Linked DNA regions of Homo sapiens: regions 2 and 3 are each linked to region 1. Evidence: promoter capture Hi-C in 16 types of primary human blood cells and fetal thymus (Javierre and others, 2016). All regions are on one chromosome and are shown on one strand. The core of a region is centred on a gene start or on the middle of the fragment in contact, and the rest is flanking DNA. Distances in the headings are between cores, read along the strand shown. Region 1 holds the start of BTG3 (BTG anti-proliferation factor 3). Region 2 has its middle 51 kb from the start of LINC03147. Region 3 overlaps LINC03147 (long intergenic non-protein coding RNA 3147).

The links. Contacts are between HindIII fragments. The CHiCAGO score rates a contact against its expected background, and 5 or more counts as called.
Region 2: a fragment that was not itself captured here is called in contact with the fragment with the promoter of BTG3 in region 1 in 2 of 17 cell types (activated CD4 T cells and total B cells); the score reaches 6.0 in activated CD4 T cells.
Region 3: a fragment that was not itself captured here is called in contact with the fragment with the promoter of BTG3 in region 1 in 2 of 17 cell types (activated CD4 T cells and non-activated CD4 T cells); the score reaches 6.8 in activated CD4 T cells.

What each region holds. Positions count from the first base shown.
Region 1 is chr21:17,611,380-17,614,250 of GRCh38, forward strand. It overlaps BTG3 (BTG anti-proliferation factor 3), which reads right to left and starts at 1,522. Exons shown (of 5, transcript NM_006806.5): 1 at 1,320-1,522. BTG3-AS1 (BTG3 antisense RNA 1) reads left to right here and starts at 307. Exons shown (of 1, transcript NR_149073.1): 1 at 307-2,735. It also overlaps a transcript of CXADR not described here. The HindIII fragment of the contact is 7,083 bases long and covers 1-2,302 here.
Region 2 is chr21:17,935,415-17,938,285 of GRCh38, forward strand. It overlaps a transcript of CHODL not described here. Among named protein-coding and RNA genes, the nearest start is that of LINC03147, 51 kb to the left of the region's middle. The HindIII fragment of the contact is 4,723 bases long and covers 1-2,871 here.
Region 3 is chr21:17,881,669-17,884,539 of GRCh38, forward strand. The region is part of intron 1 of LINC03147 (long intergenic non-protein coding RNA 3147); the gene reads right to left. The region is part of intron 2 of LOC124900465 (a long non-coding RNA gene); the gene reads left to right. Among named protein-coding and RNA genes, the nearest start is that of LINC03147, 2.5 kb to the right of the region's middle. The HindIII fragment of the contact is 6,627 bases long and covers 1-2,871 here.

The DNA.
Region 1 (2,871 bases), core at 272-2,771:
CTGTTTGCTCTGCTTCATATAAAAAAATAGAAAAGAAGGAAAGAACCACTTAGTGGTTGCTTTTGGTTGTAACACAAGATGACTCATTTGGACTTTTGTTTTCCCCGTTTGAAGAAATGATAGCTCGAACAGCTGAAAAATAAGCCCACTCCCACCAGTATTCTAGGAGTACCAAAAGGTGAAAGAGGGAGAGTTACAGTCAGGGCAAGAACCACCAGAGGCAAGCAGGGCCAAGAAGACCTCAGGCGTCTTGAGTAAGTAGGCGTCCTCCACCCACACTCAGAGCAAAAGGCTCCCATTTTAAATATCGCACGGTGACGTCATCCTGGGACCTCGTCACCGCGGCGGCTGCTCCTCAAGTTCTACTTTGTTCCACAAGGCTCCTCTGCTCACGGCTGCGTGGATAAAACCCAAAGGGAATCCAGAATCAAGCTCGGCCTCGCAGGAGTTTATAACTTTTGTACTTTTCCCTCCCTTGTAACGAAAAGCTAATCGCAAACGTTTCTAGGAACACATTTTTCTCCTGATAGACGTTCCCAAGGTGGAGGGCGCGAGAAGACTGGCCCGTGGGGTGAGGAGCCCCGGCCCGACCTCAGCGGCGCCACAAAGCCATGAAGAGGGGAAATAATTTTCCAAGGGGCTAAGAGTTGGACTTTCTGAAGCCATCGAAACCTGCTGCTAGGCTCTCCCGCTGGGGTTTTGAGAGAGGTAGGTGAGGAGGGATCAAACATCTCCACCCGCTCTTGAAAGAACCGCCTTGAGCTGCGCCCAACTTCTGCAATCCCGGTTTTCCCCAAGTTCAAGGGGAAGGGCCCTGGCGCCCAATGCCCAGCCTCCCCGACAACATCCTCGCCAGGGTGCGCCTGCCCCGCGGGTCCGCTGTCCCCGGCGGGCGGCCCTGGGTTCGAGGACCCGGCTTCCCGGAGGCGCGACTCTCCAGCAAACAAGCGGAGCTCCAGAAAAAACACCGACGCGAAGGGGGTGGACAGAGGGTGGGAAGCCGCGGGGTTGTCGCCCACCCGGAGGCGGAATGTAACGCGCTGTGGGAAACGTGGCAGGAGCCCTGAGGCGGCGTCTTTTTCCTCAGGCGCCCGCCGAGGGTCCCGCGGAAAGCCTCGCGGGCCGCCCTCGCGGCCCGCAGCCCCGCTCTGGCGCCGAGCCGGAGCCCATGCAACCTGGTTCCATCCCCTGCCCCTCCCCTGTCCCCGGTGCGCCGCCCGCCAGCGAGCCTTCGACGTGGCCGCAGGGGCGACGGGACCACCCTCCCCCGATACCCACAGCCCCGCCATGTCTGCCTTTCCCCGGCCCGGTCTCCTCACCGCCGCTGCCGCCGCCGCTCTTCGGCCGGAGATTCGGCGGCCCAGACCGTGTCCTGGCCGGGAACTGAGGGCTCCGCCTCAACGGGCCCGCGCTGGGCAACAGGGAGCGCAGCGAGCCTCGTCCGGCGCGTGCGGCTCCCGCGTCGTCGGGCGGCCAAGCGCGCGTTGAGAGGACTGGCGGGCGGACGAGCGCGCACACGAGTGAGCGCAGCCCCAAAGCGGCGCGCAGGGGGCTCGCGGCCCGGAAGAGGGGAGGGGCGATGACCCGGGAAAGGGTTGGCGCGCGCGGGATCGGCTCGCGCGCCTGAGGGGCGGTGCCGGGGGCGGGGCTTCGCCGCGAGGCCACCCCCGAGCCCCGGGCCTAGCCGCACGGGAGGCGACACACCCTCGCCCTACCCTGAGCCTGGCGCAGACCCTCGACCGCGACGGCGCGGTCCGCAGAACCGCGGGCTTCCCTCCCCGGCAAAAAGCGGCGCTGAAGGCCTGTGGGACCCCCGCCCGGCCGCCCTACGTGCGTCAGCGCCTTCGGGGGTCGCGCGGGCTTGGTCCTTTCGGCTGTCTCGGCCTTTTTGTTTCCCCCTCAGGTCTCTCCACGCTGCACTTGACACCCTCAGGGCGGAATGGCGAGTTCTAGACCCAGCTCTCTAGACCCGGGGCTTCATGGGGGACACGGACTCGACGGGAAGGGGAACTTGGCATTTATGGACAGATCCTCATCCTTCTTGCTGTAGTCAATTACACGCACGTTAACCGTGCAGCCGCCCTGCTGTATTTTAGGCGGTTGTTGGCACTCCTAGTTGGGCCCTTCCCTGGCCCCTCACAGCAGGGCCTGCCTCCTGTGGACGCTTGTGTGCTGCCCTGGCACCGGCCACTGTGTTTTGCATAAAGGAGAGGCTCCAAAGATGTTGGCCAAAGGAATGAAGCCTTGAGAGTCCAGGCTTTCTATTTCTGAGACACTCTACTCAAGGACTTCCCAGATGCAAAGCTTCATCTTTGAGCAAATACAAATATGGAGAGGGAACATTAACTTTCTGAAGAAAAGAAGGAACATCTTTTCAACCTTTTATATTGAGTTAACACCATGGTCTTAGTTTTGTGAAAGCACTTTAATACATCCAACTAGCGGGAGGAATACAAGATATTCCTACCTTTTTATTATTATTATTAAAAGAGGGCTAAACCATGTTGTAAACTACTTAAGAACTGAATGTTCAAGTTGTACAGTATATTGGCCAGATTCCTTACTGCCCACTAGGCTTGGGAGCATGTTTTCAGCTCAGTTTTATGAATGTTTTAAATTTGTATTACTGATCTTTGTTATAGCCAATTAGCAATTCAAAATGGTAATTTTTTTAGCAGTAATAAATATACCATCCCCCAAACAGTACAATAAACTTTATTTGTAAAAAAAAAAAATTATACTCTTCTAGGACTTAGTCTACTTACTGGTACATTTAAAGAGGATATTTACACCTTGGAGTCTTCTAGGAGGTGTGAAGGTGTTTTTATTTTAAAATCATAACAATCTGATGAGGTTATTTTTACAGATAAA
Region 2 (2,871 bases), core at 179-2,678, 320 kb after region 1:
ACATATACCTTCCATTACTCCGTATTTCTTTTCCACAGCTCACAAGCACACTCTGATTAGGGGATGACTCTCTTCTGGTGTGCGTTTAGACAAATTGTACATTGTTTCATGGCAGAGACATTTGGGATTGTTTTGAAATAAAAATGAATAATTTAAGTGACAAATGTCAAGAATTATCTTTTTTAACAAAATACATTCAATATAGTTGGATAAATTAGATATATAGATGACATAATTGATGCACAAAGTAGAAATATCTATACCAGCAGTGTATCCTGATATATTAAATCTCTAAAGAGTGTAGCATGGAGAATAATTAGGAAAGAAAGGATTGGAGAGAGATTTGGAATATATGCAGAGAAAGATTGTATCTTCTGAGGATGTTGAAGAGTGTGTAGGTTTTGAAGAAGTGATGGGTGCTGATTGAGGTGATGTAAGGGATAGAGAGAAGAGCACGAAGACAGGAGTGCATACACTATTTGAAAGCAATAAAAAGTGATGAGTGCCACATCTAAGCAAGGTGTTAAGCTCTGAATTGCAGTTTGCCATGCTTTCTTTTCCCCTTTCTGTGAGCCTGGCAATTTTTTAGACAGGGGCTGCTTTATCAGCTTGAATTGCAGGGTGAAGAAACATGAAGCAGAGTCTTCTGACAACTCATTATCATATCGTAGAAATAGAACTTTCTTATTGTTAGCCAGGAAGATTTTTGTGGAACTTATTAATGTAGCATTTTCTACCTTATAACACTGGTTGGCAGGCAATTTCAGTATCCCAGGCATAAAGGGCTAAGGATTCAGGCAATGAAGGACAGGAGCAAAATCTAAAAGTCATTGGGAAGGAAGGCTTGAAAGACCTTGGTGACTGATGGGTTACGAGGTACAAAGATTTAGAAGAAACTGTGACATAACCTTAATGATTTTGGTTTGAGAAAATAAATCATCAAAATGAGGAAGCAAGGGTGGAAACAAGTGTGGAAGGTAGATTTTTAATAGGTGGGAGAGAGACCCTTAAATCCTTTTTATGAAATTAAAGATAGTATAAGATGATGTTAAAAAAAAAAAAAAGAATCATCAGAAAGAGTCCATTTGGAAAATGTGGTAGTTTAGAGAAATTTCATAGTACTTAGAATGTGAAACAGATCCAATGGAAAGCTGTTGTTTCATTATGTTTTGTTTTAAAGTTTGGCTATACATTTGCATACTTAAAATAATAAAAACATATAGGAATCCAGCAGTGCAGGAAAGATGCCGTGGACATAAGTGGTAAAATATGAGTTCTAAGGTCCACAGAAATTAGGAAGGGATGTGACTGAGAACATACACGGAGGGGTAATCTTTGGAGAAAGGAGAGTAAATATCTATTAAAATTTTAGAAGGAAGGGCCGGGCGTGGTGGCTCACGCCTTTAATCTCGGCAACGTGGGAGGCTGAGGCGGGCAGATCATGAGGTCAGGAGTTTGAGACCAGCCTGGCCAACATGGTGAATCTCTTTCTCTACTAAAAATACAAAAATTAGCTGGGCGTGGTGGTGGGCTTCTGTAATCCCAGCTACTCAGGAGGCTGAGGCAGGAGAATCACTTGAACCCTGGAGGCAGAGGTTGCAGTGAGCCGAGATCCTGAGATTGTGCCATTGCACTCCAGCCTGGGTGACAGGGTGAGACTCCATCTCAAAAAAAAAAAAAAAAAAATTAGGAGGAAGAGGATAAATGTAGAAATGGATATGCACTGAGATGAAATCAGACACTGGTAAAGTTCAAGATCTTGATGATCCCAGAGCATCAGTTTTCCACTAAAGTCAGTGAAGTTATCTGCTAAGTGGGACAGAAGGAGAGGGGCAGGTGAGAGCAGAGAAAAGAGAAGTTTTGAAATTGCCACAGAGAGGAGAATACCTGGTTGTGATTACAGGATTGCCAAACACAGAGGGCCCGTTTGAAGTTAGACTGTATGAATTCATAATGCTCCAATTCTGAATAATCCTCTGTCTTCTCTCAGTAGTGTTCAGTGTCCTGGGAACAGGCAGATCAAGCTCACAGTGAACAGGCAGAGAAAGCTCACGTTGAGGGTGATCCAGGTTTGTGATTCTTACAGATTAGGTTATTTGCACAGGTCATACTTATAGTTCTCTTTAATCTGTTCTCATTGTTTCTTCATAAAAATACAGTGTCTTTTCACAGATACATTTTATATTCCTGTGGTTCTGATGATCTTCACACTAGCTTGAAATTCATCTCTTTAACCACTGGAGCCTAGATTTCTTTTTTACACTTGGCTCTTTATAAACTATGATATTAATTTTTGGATAATTTTTCTACCTTCTCATTTTTTTCACTTTGATAGGCTTTTTCAAATAACTTTTATTGGTGAAAAAGTTATCTATAGTTTTTAATAAAATTTTGTCATCTCATTTAATTCATCTGTCAGTTACTTAATCATTATTTCATGCTGAATATGTGCCAGGTGCTATGTTAAGGGCCAAGGATACAAAGATAAAGAAAACAAGGTACCTGTCTTTGATGTGTTTATAGAGATCAAAAGTCTACTGGGCAAGTTCCTAAACTTTGTATAACTTGTGTTACAATGGCTTCTGTTCTCATTTGGTATTGGGCAAGTTCCCCTCACCCCACATACTTTTCATTAAATTTGTAATATTTGCGAATTTGAAAAGTAAATTTTCATTACATTTGGTTTATTAATACGTAGTTCCCCACTGCTGGGGCTGATATTTATTGTTACGACCACCTTATCCCACTAGGCACCACAGTCCCCACTGGGTTTTGCCATGTTTGTGCAAAAACGCTGCCATTTCTACAGACTGTCCCAATTTCTGTTGCTGTACTAGAACGCTTAAATGTTAATGATGATTGCTGACCTAT
Region 3 (2,871 bases), core at 142-2,641, 270 kb after region 1:
ATACATTTTGATAAGAAGCATGTCTCCTTGGAGATCTTGATAAGGTAAATATTATCTTGAACTCATGGCCTGAGTATAGCTGCCTGATTATTAGGGATTGCAGGCATGAGCCACTGTGCCCAGCTATGAGGTAAATATTATCAAGAACACTTCTTCACTTAGAAATATTAAAAATTATTAGGTGTCTGCATGTTCTCATAAGTGGGAGTTGAACAATGAGAACACATGGACACCGGGAGAAGAGCATCACACACGGGGGGCCTGTTAGGGGGTCAGGAGCTAGGGGAGGGATAGCATTAGGGGAAATACCTAATGTAGATGACGGGTTGATGGGTGCAACAAACCACCATGGCATGTGTAGACCTGTATAACAAACCTGCACATTCTGCACATGTATCCCAGAACTTAAAGTATAATAAAAAAAAAATTATTAGGTGTCAACGATATACCAGGCCCCATGTAAGGTACTGGTGGTGTGTTACATACAGATACAGGAGCCAGTCATTTCTGTTTGTCTTTTTTTTTTTTTTTTCAGAGATGGAGTCTCGCTTTGTTGCCCAGGCTGGAGTGCAGTGGCACAATCTGGGCTCACTGCCAGCTCTACCTACCTGATTCATGCCATTCTCCTGCCTCAGCCTCCTGAGTAACTGGGACTACAGGTGCCTGCCACTATGCCTGGCTAATTTTTTTGTATTTTTAGTAGAGACAGGGTTTCACCATGTTAGCCAGGATGGTCTCGATCTCCTGACCTTGTGATCTGCCCGCCTTGGCCTCCCATAGCGCTGGGATTACAGGCGTGAGCCACCGCGCCTGGCCTCTGTTTGTCTTTTATAATCTTTCCATCTTCTCACCTATCCTCCCTCACCTTTCTGAATGGGATTGCAATGATTTATGACAAGCACACACAACAAACAAATGGAGACTGAGAAACTCAGTCATGACCAAAGGAGGCATTAATAAGAGTACGGAGTCAAGAAAAAACTTTTGGCCCAGCGTGGTGGCTCACACCTGTAATTCCAGCACTTTGGGAGGCCAAGGTGGGTGGATCACTTGAGCTCAGGAGTTCAAGACCAGCCTGGGCACTATGGAGAAACCCTGTCACTACAAAAATACAAAAATTAGCCAGATGTGGTGGTGCACACCTGTAGTCCCAGCTACTCGGGAGGCTAAGGTGGGGTGATTGCTTGAGTCCAACAGGTGAGGCTTCAGTGAGTCAAGATCGCTCCACTGCACTCCGGCTTGAGTGACAGAGGGAGATCTTTCTCAAAAAAAAAAAAAAAAAAAAAGCAAATAGCAAGAAAGAAAGAAAAAATCTTTCAGACCGTAAAGGCCTATGTGGTTATTATACTTGTGCTGACATTAGGCTTTGGGTTTCCTGGCAATCAAAGCAAGCAGAAAGACCTATTGCTCTTTTTCAGAAAGGAAAGAGGATTTCAGTTCCTCAGGGAAGGCAAAACTGTTTGTTTTTAGCACTAAGTTCTGAAAAGCATTTTCAATGTGGTGCTTTATATAAGGGGCACTGAACAAGATAATAGACAACATGCTTGACTTCTTCCAAATAGCAAGCACATGAATGGAATCTATATGACGACTTCTTGTGTTGTCTTTAGATAATAGTGATATAACCTTAAAATGCATCTCAATGGATGCGATTATGTGGGGACTTGGCTCTGACGAAACGAAGCTGCCTAGACAAGATGAATTTTATCCATAGATAAAATTCCAAGAACCAGTCCAAGAAAAAGAGTTGAACAAATCCAGTTTTTCCTTGGGAAACGTTCATCTTCACTATCAGCAGTTTCTTAGCCATTTGAGTGCCCCTTTCTGGCTCCAATACAGTTGGCGGTCTTTTGTTTAATTTTGGCATCTTGCTCTCAGCTAGCTGTTATTATAATTCTCATAGCAGTCATAAATGCCATTGGAGCCCTAAGAGTTAAGAGTTTTGGACTTGCTGAGTTTTGAAAAGTTTAAAATTCCTTTAAAAAATAATCGTTGAACTCTTCAGAGTTTTTTATATGCTAATATATATTGTGACTCTGTAAGAGAGAAAAATAATGTTCAGTATTTCTTCATCATATTTGATCATGGAACCCCTTAGTCATGTATCAGATACCTGTTGGGAAATGCTGTTGAAAGTTATTCTTTGTTAATGACTTTTAATGTAGACATTACAAGATCCCTTGCAGGGATATTGGCACTTTAGTATAGGATTAATGATGGTCAACAAATGTTTGAAATTGAAAGCTATGAATTTTTAGTAAAGCATCCTTGGTGCCCTGGCAAGTAGATGAAATATATTTGGGCAGGTGGAACTTTCTAGAATCCTCATGTCATACCACGTATTTATAAGACCAGCCCTCACAATCTTGGTCATGGCCTAAAAGTCTTTCTTCATCTATAAAATCAAGATTGTATTCTTCAGCTTAATCTTTGAATATCAACTGAATAAAATAATCAAAATACTGTTGAGACATTTGAAATGTAATCATTTTAAACTACCACTTAAAAAGAATAGAGCATAATAATAATCTTTGGGCAAAATTTATAAAGAATACGCTAGAGAATGGCTTTCTTTTTTTTTTTTTGAGACGGAGTCTCGCTCTGTCGCCCAGGCTGGAGTGCAGTGGCGTGATCTCGGCTCACTGCAACCTCCGCCTCCCGGGTTCAAAAGCGATTCTCCTGCCTCAGCCTTCCGAATAGCTGGAATTACAGGCACACGGACGCCACCACGCCCGGCTAATTTTTTTGTATTTTTAGTAGAGACGGGGTTTCACTGTGTTAGCCAGGATGGTCTCAATCTCCTGACCTTGTGATCTGCCTGCCTCGGCCTCCCAAAGTGCTGGGATTACAGGCGTGAGCCACCGCGCCTGG